Linked DNA regions of Homo sapiens: all the other regions are linked to region 3. Evidence: promoter capture Hi-C in human tissues and cell types (Jung and others, 2019). All regions are on one chromosome and are shown on one strand. The core of a region is centred on a gene start or on the middle of the fragment in contact, and the rest is flanking DNA. Distances in the headings are between cores, read along the strand shown.

The links. Contacts are between HindIII fragments. The study calls those that stand out against the background at their distance.
Region 1: a contact is called between a fragment that was not itself captured here and the fragment with the promoter of PNMA2 in region 3, in 4 of the 25 tissues and cell types used here (IMR-90 fibroblasts, aorta, dorsolateral prefrontal cortex and 1 more).
Region 2: a contact is called between a fragment that was not itself captured here and the fragment with the promoter of PNMA2 in region 3, in 4 of the 25 tissues and cell types used here (dorsolateral prefrontal cortex, hippocampus, liver and 1 more).

What each region holds. Positions count from the first base shown.
Region 1 is chr8:26,412,002-26,414,701 of GRCh38, forward strand. BNIP3L (BCL2 interacting protein 3 like) reads left to right here. Exons shown (of 6, transcript NM_004331.3): 6 at 1-1,126. Among named protein-coding and RNA genes, the nearest start is that of BNIP3L, 30 kb to the left of the region's middle. The HindIII fragment of the contact is 4,202 bases long and covers 1-2,700 here.
Region 2 is chr8:26,390,167-26,393,073 of GRCh38, forward strand. BNIP3L (BCL2 interacting protein 3 like) reads left to right here. Exons shown (of 6, transcript NM_004331.3): 2 at 1,077-1,260. Among named protein-coding and RNA genes, the nearest start is that of BNIP3L, 8.6 kb to the left of the region's middle. RefSeq lists an enhancer at 993-1,137 and a cis regulatory region at 1,056-1,073. The HindIII fragment of the contact is 4,436 bases long and covers 1-2,907 here.
Region 3 is chr8:26,512,499-26,515,276 of GRCh38, forward strand. PNMA2 (PNMA family member 2) reads right to left here and starts at 1,374. Exons shown (of 3, transcript NM_007257.6): 1 at 1,318-1,374. It overlaps DPYSL2 (dihydropyrimidinase like 2), which reads left to right and starts at 1,533. Exons shown (of 14, transcript NM_001197293.3): 1 at 1,533-2,181. The coding sequence starts at 1,828. RefSeq lists an enhancer at 1-488. The HindIII fragment of the contact is 13,621 bases long and covers 1-2,778 here.

The sequences.
Region 1 (2,700 bases), core at 120-2,619, 100 kb before region 3:
AATAACATATAGATTAAACAAAATTTTTATCTTTTTTCAAGAATATAGCTGGCTATCTTTAAGAAAGATGATATATCCTAGTTTTGAAAGTAATTTTCTTTTTTCTTTCTAGCATTTGATGTCTAAATAATTTTGGACATCTTTTTCCTAGACCATGTTTCTGTCTTACTCTTAAACCTGGTAACACTTGATTTGCCTTCTATAACCTATTTATTTCAAGTGTTCATATTTGAATTTCTTTGGGAAGAAAGTAAATCTGATGGCTCACTGATTTTTGAAAAGCCTGAATAAAATTGGAAAGACTGGAAAGTTAGGAGAACTGACTAGCTAAACTGCTACAGTATGCAATTTCTATTACAATTGGTATTACAGGGGGGAAAAGTAAAATTACACTTTACCTGAAAGTGACTTCTTACAGCTAGTGCATTGTGCTCTTTCCAAGTTCAGCAGCAGTTCTATCAGTGGTGCCACTGAAACTGGGTATATTTATGATTTCTTTCAGCGTTAAAAAGAAACATAGTGTTGCCCTTTTTCTTAAAGCATCAGTGAAATTATGGAAAATTACTTAAAACGTGAATACATCATCACAGTAGAATTTATTATGAGAGCATGTAGTATGTATCTGTAGCCCTAACACATGGGATGAACGTTTTACTGCTACACCCAGATTTGTGTTGAACGAAAACATTGTGGTTTGGAAAGGAGAATTCAACAATTAATAGTTGAAATTGTGAGGTTAATGTTTAAAAAGCTTTACACCTGTTTACAATTTGGGGACAAAAAGGCAGGCTTCATTTTTCATATGTTTGATGAAAACTGGCTCAAGATGTTTGTAAATAGAATCAAGAGCAAAACTGCACAAACTTGCACATTGGAAAGTGCAACAAGTTCCCGTGATTGCAGTAAAAATATTTACTATTCTAAAAAAATGAGAATTGAAGACTTAGCCAGTCAGATAAGTTTTTTCATGAACCCGTTGTGGAAATTATTGGAATTAACTGAGCCAAAGTGATTATGCATTCTTCATCTATTTTAGTTAGCACTTTGTATCGTTATATACAGTTTACAATACATGTATAACTTGTAGCTATAAACATTTTGTGCCATTAAAGCTCTCACAAAACTTTTCCTGTCAGTATATCATTTTTCTGTCGCACCTGTTGCCTGGGAGTTTCAGGCGATGAGGCCTCCTCGCCTACACACAGCCTTCCAGTCATCTGGCTTCCCCAGCAGTGGAGTTCCTAACAGTGCTCAGGGTGTGAACGGTGTTCTGTGGGGACAGTCACCGCAGTGTGAGCATTCGTGAGTGCCTCGGGACTGTGGCATTCAGAGCATTTGCCTCCAGGTAGTGGCAGGAGGGCGCTCACGGGAGGAGTGCTCAGGAAGTACAGGAGAGAAGAAGAGTGTGCCCTGATGGAAATGACAGTGGGACACCAGTGAAAGTGGATCCAGAAGGAACTGGAAGTTCCACGTGCCTGGAAAACAGGATGGATACAGAGGAAACTGAAAAATGTAGGTTAGTACTGAACCTAATTGAAATGTGTGTGCCCTCCCAGGGGTCACACTTCATCATATAGTTAGCTGGGTTTACTTCTTTTAAACCAGGAGGTGATTTAAGATGTAAATTTTAGACAGTCAAGCCATCTGGTGAGAGAGTACCAGAGGAGATCAATCAGTTCTCTAGGCGAGGAGCTAGGGCCTGTCCTGGGCTGTCACCCTGAGGTTGGCAGTGGTGGGCCAGGATACGTATGAGAAACAAAGCGGAAGTAAACTGGTCAGAAAGTGACTTAGAGACGAAGGCGTGTGTATTCCTTTGTGTGTGTGGCCCGAAAACATGGGTTGATCCCATTAGTTAAAGGAGGACAGGAGAAGAAATGGGGTGGTAGGAGCAAAGAGGGAGGATTTCAGTTTTGAGTGCGTTGAACATGAAATGTCTGAGGGCCTTCTGATTGGACACTTATTAAATAGAACTATAACCCAGGAGAAGGGTCTGGAGTGGAAGTAAAACACAATCAGACCCATGCATTATATATTTATATGATGTTTAAAGATTGGACAATGGGCAAGGAAGAAAGTTACTCAAACAACAGGGAAGCCCAAAATTTGAAGGCTAAGCAGAAGAGAAGTTCTAGGTGAAATTGTTGGTATCACAGAAACCCCAAAAGTAGGAGGTGACCAAGCCTGACATGTTTCGTGGTTAAGTAAGATGAATCGAGAAGCTTTGGAATATGGCAGTCAGATCTGTGCTGATCTTTGCAAGAGCATTTTCTGTAGGAGTGAAAGAGGGATCCTGGATAAGATTGTGTTGGGTCAATGAATGAATAGCAAGAAGTGTTGGCTTTTTTGAATAAACTTCATGATTAAGAAAACAAGGGGGGAGTTTCTGAAGAGGAGACAGGATAGTAGGATTGTTGGCTTAGGTTGGGAATATAGAGGGGCCAATGTGTAGGCTAAGGAGAGAGAGCAAAGGGAGATATTAGCGTTACGGAGGGAGCAGATCAGTAATGGAAGAGTGGGACGTACTCCCTCCCGGAGAGGAAGGAAATGTAATTAAGCACTCAGGGAGGGTGAGCCTTAGAAAGGTGGAGTTTACAAAACCCAGACATTGATGACAGGAAATGAAGACATGAGAAGGGGTGAGTTAGAAATGGAAAGTGATGAAACCCCTGTCTGGTGGCTCCACTTTCTCCATGTTTGAGG
Region 2 (2,907 bases), core at 387-2,886, 120 kb before region 3:
TGGTGTCAAACTCCTGGATTCAAGCAATCCTGGTGCCTCAGCCTCCCAAAGTGCTGGGATTACATGTGTGAGCCACTGTACCTGGCCTCAACTCTTGTTAAAATTAAAGCACCTTAATACGTTTAGCAAACTCATCAGACCAATAAATATTTTCAAGATGTATGCAGAATTACCAGTGGCACATCCCCTTTTTCTGTGGCTCCACCCCTTCAACTTTTTGTCCAAGAAAACTTTTCGTGTTTGCCTGTAGCTGATGTGCAGTTGTTTCTGCTCCCAAATCAACAGGGTTTAATGAAAACCCTAGAAAGTAGAAACCCGTGGGAGAGAAAAGAAAAAAGACAAGTTCACAAGGTATGTTTAGTGTATAAAAAAGGAGAAGGACTAGAAAGCCTGAGATACAAAGGAAATGAAGAAACTAATCAGTGAGATAGAGATAAAGCTTTTTTCTGAATTTTTAGCATTATTACCTGATTTAGTTAACCAGCTGCATTAATTTTATGCTCCTGATTTGTGCACAAATTGAAATTTTTGCTATTGGATTTAGGTTCCCTCTCTAGGAGTTTCTCAGTTGTTTGCACTAAGTAGGATATAGTTGCTAACTTACTTAGATGACCTTTTATGAAATTTGTAGGTGATATATTTATTTCATTTCTGGAGCAGATACAGCTGAGCAGCTTAGGTAGACTATGAAGAAAGTGTGTGTGTATATATACACCAACTAAAATGTTAAAGGTAAATAGCCTAAAAGTAGCAATTTTTTTTTGAAAAGCAACCTGAGTTTTCAGTAGAGTGTTATTATAAACCAAGCTTTACCCAGAGAGAAATTGACTGAAAAACACGTTTTCTGAGATGTTTTAGAGTTTGAGCTGTTTCTCAGTTGATGGCATGAGCTATTTCAGGAACAGAACTATATAGATCTTTAGACTTTTATTACTTCTTATTTATTTTCTTCAGAATACTTTTACATTTGGTTTGAGGAGAGTCAGAATTCTTATCTGGATTCACCATGTTCACATCTGTGTGCACATGACAGATTTCAGTTCTGCTGTGGTTAACTTATCTGACTTGTCCAACAGGTTCCTGGGTGGAGCTACCCATGAACAGCAGCAATGGCAATGATAATGGCAATGGGAAAAATGGGGGGCTGGAACACGTACCATCCTCATCCTCCATCCACAATGGAGACATGGAGAAGATTCTTTTGGATGCACAACATGAATCAGGACAGAGTAGTTCCAGAGGCAGTTCTCACTGTGACAGGTAAGTGAGACCCATGTTTTGGTGGAATTCAGGAAACAGGTGGGTTACAGGGCTCATTCACTCTAGGAAAAATCTGTTTGCTTAAATCTTCACTTAGCAAAATATGCCTCCTGATATATTGTAGTATAATATATATTGCACAGATATATATTGTGTTTATATGAGACAGCTAATTGACAGGTGCTTCAGTGCCCACTGTTTTTCCCCAGATTGTCATTTTTCTTACCCAGATTATATTGTTTCTAGCAGTTTATCAGTTTAAAATTCAGTGGCATAAATGCTAATTTATAGAATTAATCTGACTTTCCCCCATTTTCCTTTGTGTCCCTGTGTTACAGATCACAGACTGTTCTTGAATTAGTTACCTCTGTATATATGTGTCTTCCCTTCTAGATGTTGACGTTGCAAAGGGCAGGGGCCATGTTTAATTTTTATTACCTTCACAGTAATGGTGCTGGCACGTAGTAGACACTCAGTAAATGTTTGATTCATAGGAACTGCAGGTTGCTTCACGTTATAGCAATATTTGCACAGTTGGAAGCACCAACCAAGGTCTGTAAAGATAGTTTTGAAGTCTCCTCTGCTTTCTCAGGGGATGTTTTGTTTCAGACCTCATTTTTCTATATTTGAGCTGAAGAAACTAATTACATGGATTAAGGACTGCTTATGGTGAAAGAGTAAGAATACAACGAGATATGTGTGTGGAATGAAACCAGGTCATTATTTTTTAGTATAAACTTTTCTGTTTTTTTTTTTTTTTTTCAGAAGGGCTAGATATTAAATGACATTTAAGAAATTCTTGTTTCAGTGACAGCTACACTGTTAGCATTATGGGGCACTGGATGACCTTCTGGGTGGTTGTTAACTGATGTTAACCATTTAGAAAATGCAAATGCACGGGAAGCAGATTAAGGAAATGTAAACAGTGACTATTTTTAGGAATGCAGTATGGATATGTTTCTTCTTAACATTTTTGTATTTTGTAAAAATTGTGTATATTGCACATATTATTACTTATCAGAAGAAGTGAAAAAAAGGAGAAATGAGTTAAATCATGTCCAACTTCCTGAGTGGCTTATGATCCACTAATGTTGCCAAGGCAGCGGGGGACTGGTTTGTTGGCTCTGTGGCACACTGTGCACCCCCGCCACCCCCGTGTCATCCCTGACTTGTCCCTGTGCTTCTTAGAGCCTGGGATGGCTCTTGTCATAAGCGGAACCAGAGCAGATGGCTCTCTTCTGAACAGCTTGCCCTTGATTCCAGTAGCTACAGCATTAGTCTGTCTTTCCGAATGAAGATTTATATTTATATTATGGAACTTGCTGATGGGTTTCTCAAGTTTTCTGCTTGTTATGGCCTGTCAACAAGGCTTTCACTCTGCGTTCAGGTGTGTGGGCCTTGATCATTGATACCATGGTGTCCATGAGCCTGTTGTTCACATGGTGCTGTCAATGAGCAGAGAACAGTCACCTGCTTACCTGTCTGTTCATCTTACTTCATTTATGGTGCAGTTTTACGTGTGACTGAATATGCCTTCACCCTCCTATGATCATGTTTAAGTTTAGGTTGCCATGAGGAGGCATGGCAAATGCTTTTGAACACTTTCGTACCCCTCATCTTATGTCTCTCCAGGCCCTAGATTAGTGG
Region 3 (2,778 bases), core at 124-2,623:
TGTGGGGGTGGTTGGTAACCGCATTTAATCCTGGGCTGACAATGGGACTGGATCCCTGGTTACACGGCCCTACGCGGTGGCCCTGCGGTAAACGGCCTCTCAGCCCAAACCCACCCTGGTTACTGAGCATGCCCAGAACTCCCTCCCGGGCCACCAAAGGAGGGGCACCATTTCTGCAGGATTTTGCCACTGTGGAAAGAGAGGCGGAGCTGTCATCGCGCAGAGGCAGGGACTGATACGCGGAAAGGACGTGGAGATGGGAATAAGCAATGAAGGACCAGCATTGACCGTGTTAGGCACACAAATCTAATTGCCCCCTGGTTACTTACCAACCCGGTGGCCGTGGCTCAGCTACTGCACACACACACCAAGTTCCTACACACCTTTCCCCTGCTTGGCCCCACACAATTCATGGCACTCACAGCCCACATCCTACCTCCTACTCCGCACCAGATGCGCACCCGCACTTACTCCCCAAACACGTGGCATCTGGTAACCCGGGAAACGCTGCGACTGTGGCGCAGTGCGCAACAGGGGCGGGGGAACCAGGCGGGGCTCTGGGGCGCAGGGGAAAGCTGGAGATTTGGGAAGGGGGTTTCAGTTTGTTTTTTCTCTCTTTTTTTTTTTTTTTTTTTTTTTTTGGTGGAGGAAGCAGAATAAACCAAATCGCGACACGTTCCTGCGCCCTTCTTGGCGCAGTGGCGCAGACACGGTCCATGGCGCCTTGCGCAATAGAGTCGGTCTGCACCCCGTCTTTAAGTCGTGGCCCTGGGCTGGAATTCCCGACTGCACTCTTTGCTACACCCCCATAGACCGCAGACCTGCGTCTCTCTCTATATTCCTCTCCCATCTGCTACGCCCCTCTGAATTTCTTCCCGCCATGTTGTGTGCCCCCCCCCCACTCCCCCGTCACCCCAACCACACCAAAGTGGATGCACGAAGCGGGAACCTTCTCGTTTCAGTCTCTGCTCCCTGCAGCCTGCCAAGGCGAGTGGACAAACTGAAGCTGGGGTGTCCAGCGTCTTGGCTGCCCCCCTCCTGTCCACCCTGCCTGTGCTATCCTTGCTCATCTTCAGTGCCATCCCGCTTCCCACACCCTGAGTAGCCTGGCGCCCGGCTTGTCCCCTTTTCCCATCCATCAGCTCACACCCAGGGTAACGGGGCGGGACCCCTATCCACAGTGCGCCCTCGCCCCCGGCCCACCTCCGCCATGCGGCGGGGCAGAGGCGCCTGGGCCAGGCAGGTGGAGGAGAGGGGCACTGGGGCTGGGGGCTGCGTCCTCCGGTCCTCACTCCGCGTGCCCTGCCCGATACTTACCCAGGCGCGGAGAGCGGTCAGCGGGCCCTCCGCTCCGCATCCATTAGCTGGTGGTCTGGCCGCTTCACTTCCGGAGCGCGGGGCTAGGGGCGGTGCCGCCCTCCCCTCTCTCTCTCCTTCCCTCCCCTCCAGCCCTCCCCTGAGCACCGCTCCCCTCCCCGGCGCCGCGCCCCGCCCGCGCCTCCCTCCTCCCAGCGCTGCCGGGAACTGGCAGCCTTTCGGCTCCCGCAGCCGCAGCGGACGCCCTCCCAGATCCAACTTTGCCGCTTCCCCGAGCTCGCGCTGTAGCCGCGGGGGGCGTGGGCAGGGAGGGGAGAAGCGGGGTCAGGGGGAGGGACCGGGAGGGTGGGTCGCCGGCTCGCCAGCCCTCCTTCCTTTCTGTGCACCTTGCGGTGGGCGGCGAACGGCAGCCGCGGCAGCAGCTAGGGGGCTTGTGCACACAGCGAGGGAGACTTAGGGACTGGCAGACGGACGGACGGACGGCGAGGACCCTACCCGAGCCCCCGAGCCATGGCCGAGAGAAAGCAATCCGGGAAGGCGGCAGAGGACGAAGAGGTCCCTGCTTTTTTTAAAAACCTGGGCTCCGGCAGCCCCAAGCCCCGGCAGAAATTCTGTGGCATGTTCTGCCCGGTGGAAGGGTCCTCGGAGAACAAGACCATCGACTTCGACTCGCTGTCGGTGGGCCGGGGCTCGGGGCAGGTGGTGGCTCAGCAGCGGGACGTCGCCCACTTGGGCCCGGACCCGCAGCCGCCGTACTCGCGGCAGGGCCGGCGCGCCGGCGGAGAGCCATCTGTTGAATCGGGCCGGAAGGTGGAGATCCGGAGGGCCTCGGGCAAAGAAGCCCTGCAGAACATCAACGACCAGGTCGGTGTGGGGGTTGGGGGTGGAGACGGAGGACGGGGCGCGGGGATCGCCCCTCCCTCGCCCCTGAGCCCGGCGCGCCCGCCTTCATGCCCCGCCCTGGACCTCGCCTCCCGCATCTGCACGCGCACCCCGCCCTACCCGCCCCTTCTCCGCGCAGGGTGCGGCGAGGCTCGGGCTGGGCGGTGGGCGGCCGTGCGCCCACAAAGGCTGCCCGCGTCTCCTTGAGCTTGAGAGGTGGGGCGTGGGCATAGGGAATGGGCTGATCCCCTGCTGGGGCGGGCGGTGGTCGTCTGGGAGGGGGTTGGCCGCGGTTCCATTCTTCTGAAACCCTCCCGGGCGGCTTCCGATTGCAGCTGCGGCTGGGTGCCCCACCCTTTTTTTGAGCGGCTCAGAGCGTGCGGTGGAGGCTTTGCGTGAAGGCCCGCGGCTCCCCGGTGGTCGGGAGGGGCGGGGGTTCGGACGGCCGCTCCCTACAGCCTCCGCCCGCGCCTTCTGCGCTCACGTCCCGAGCTCCGAGGCCAGGACCATGGTCAGCGCCCCCCGGACCCCCTCCGAGCACCGCACCGCCCTTGACTCCTGCTCGCAGCGTGAGAAGAG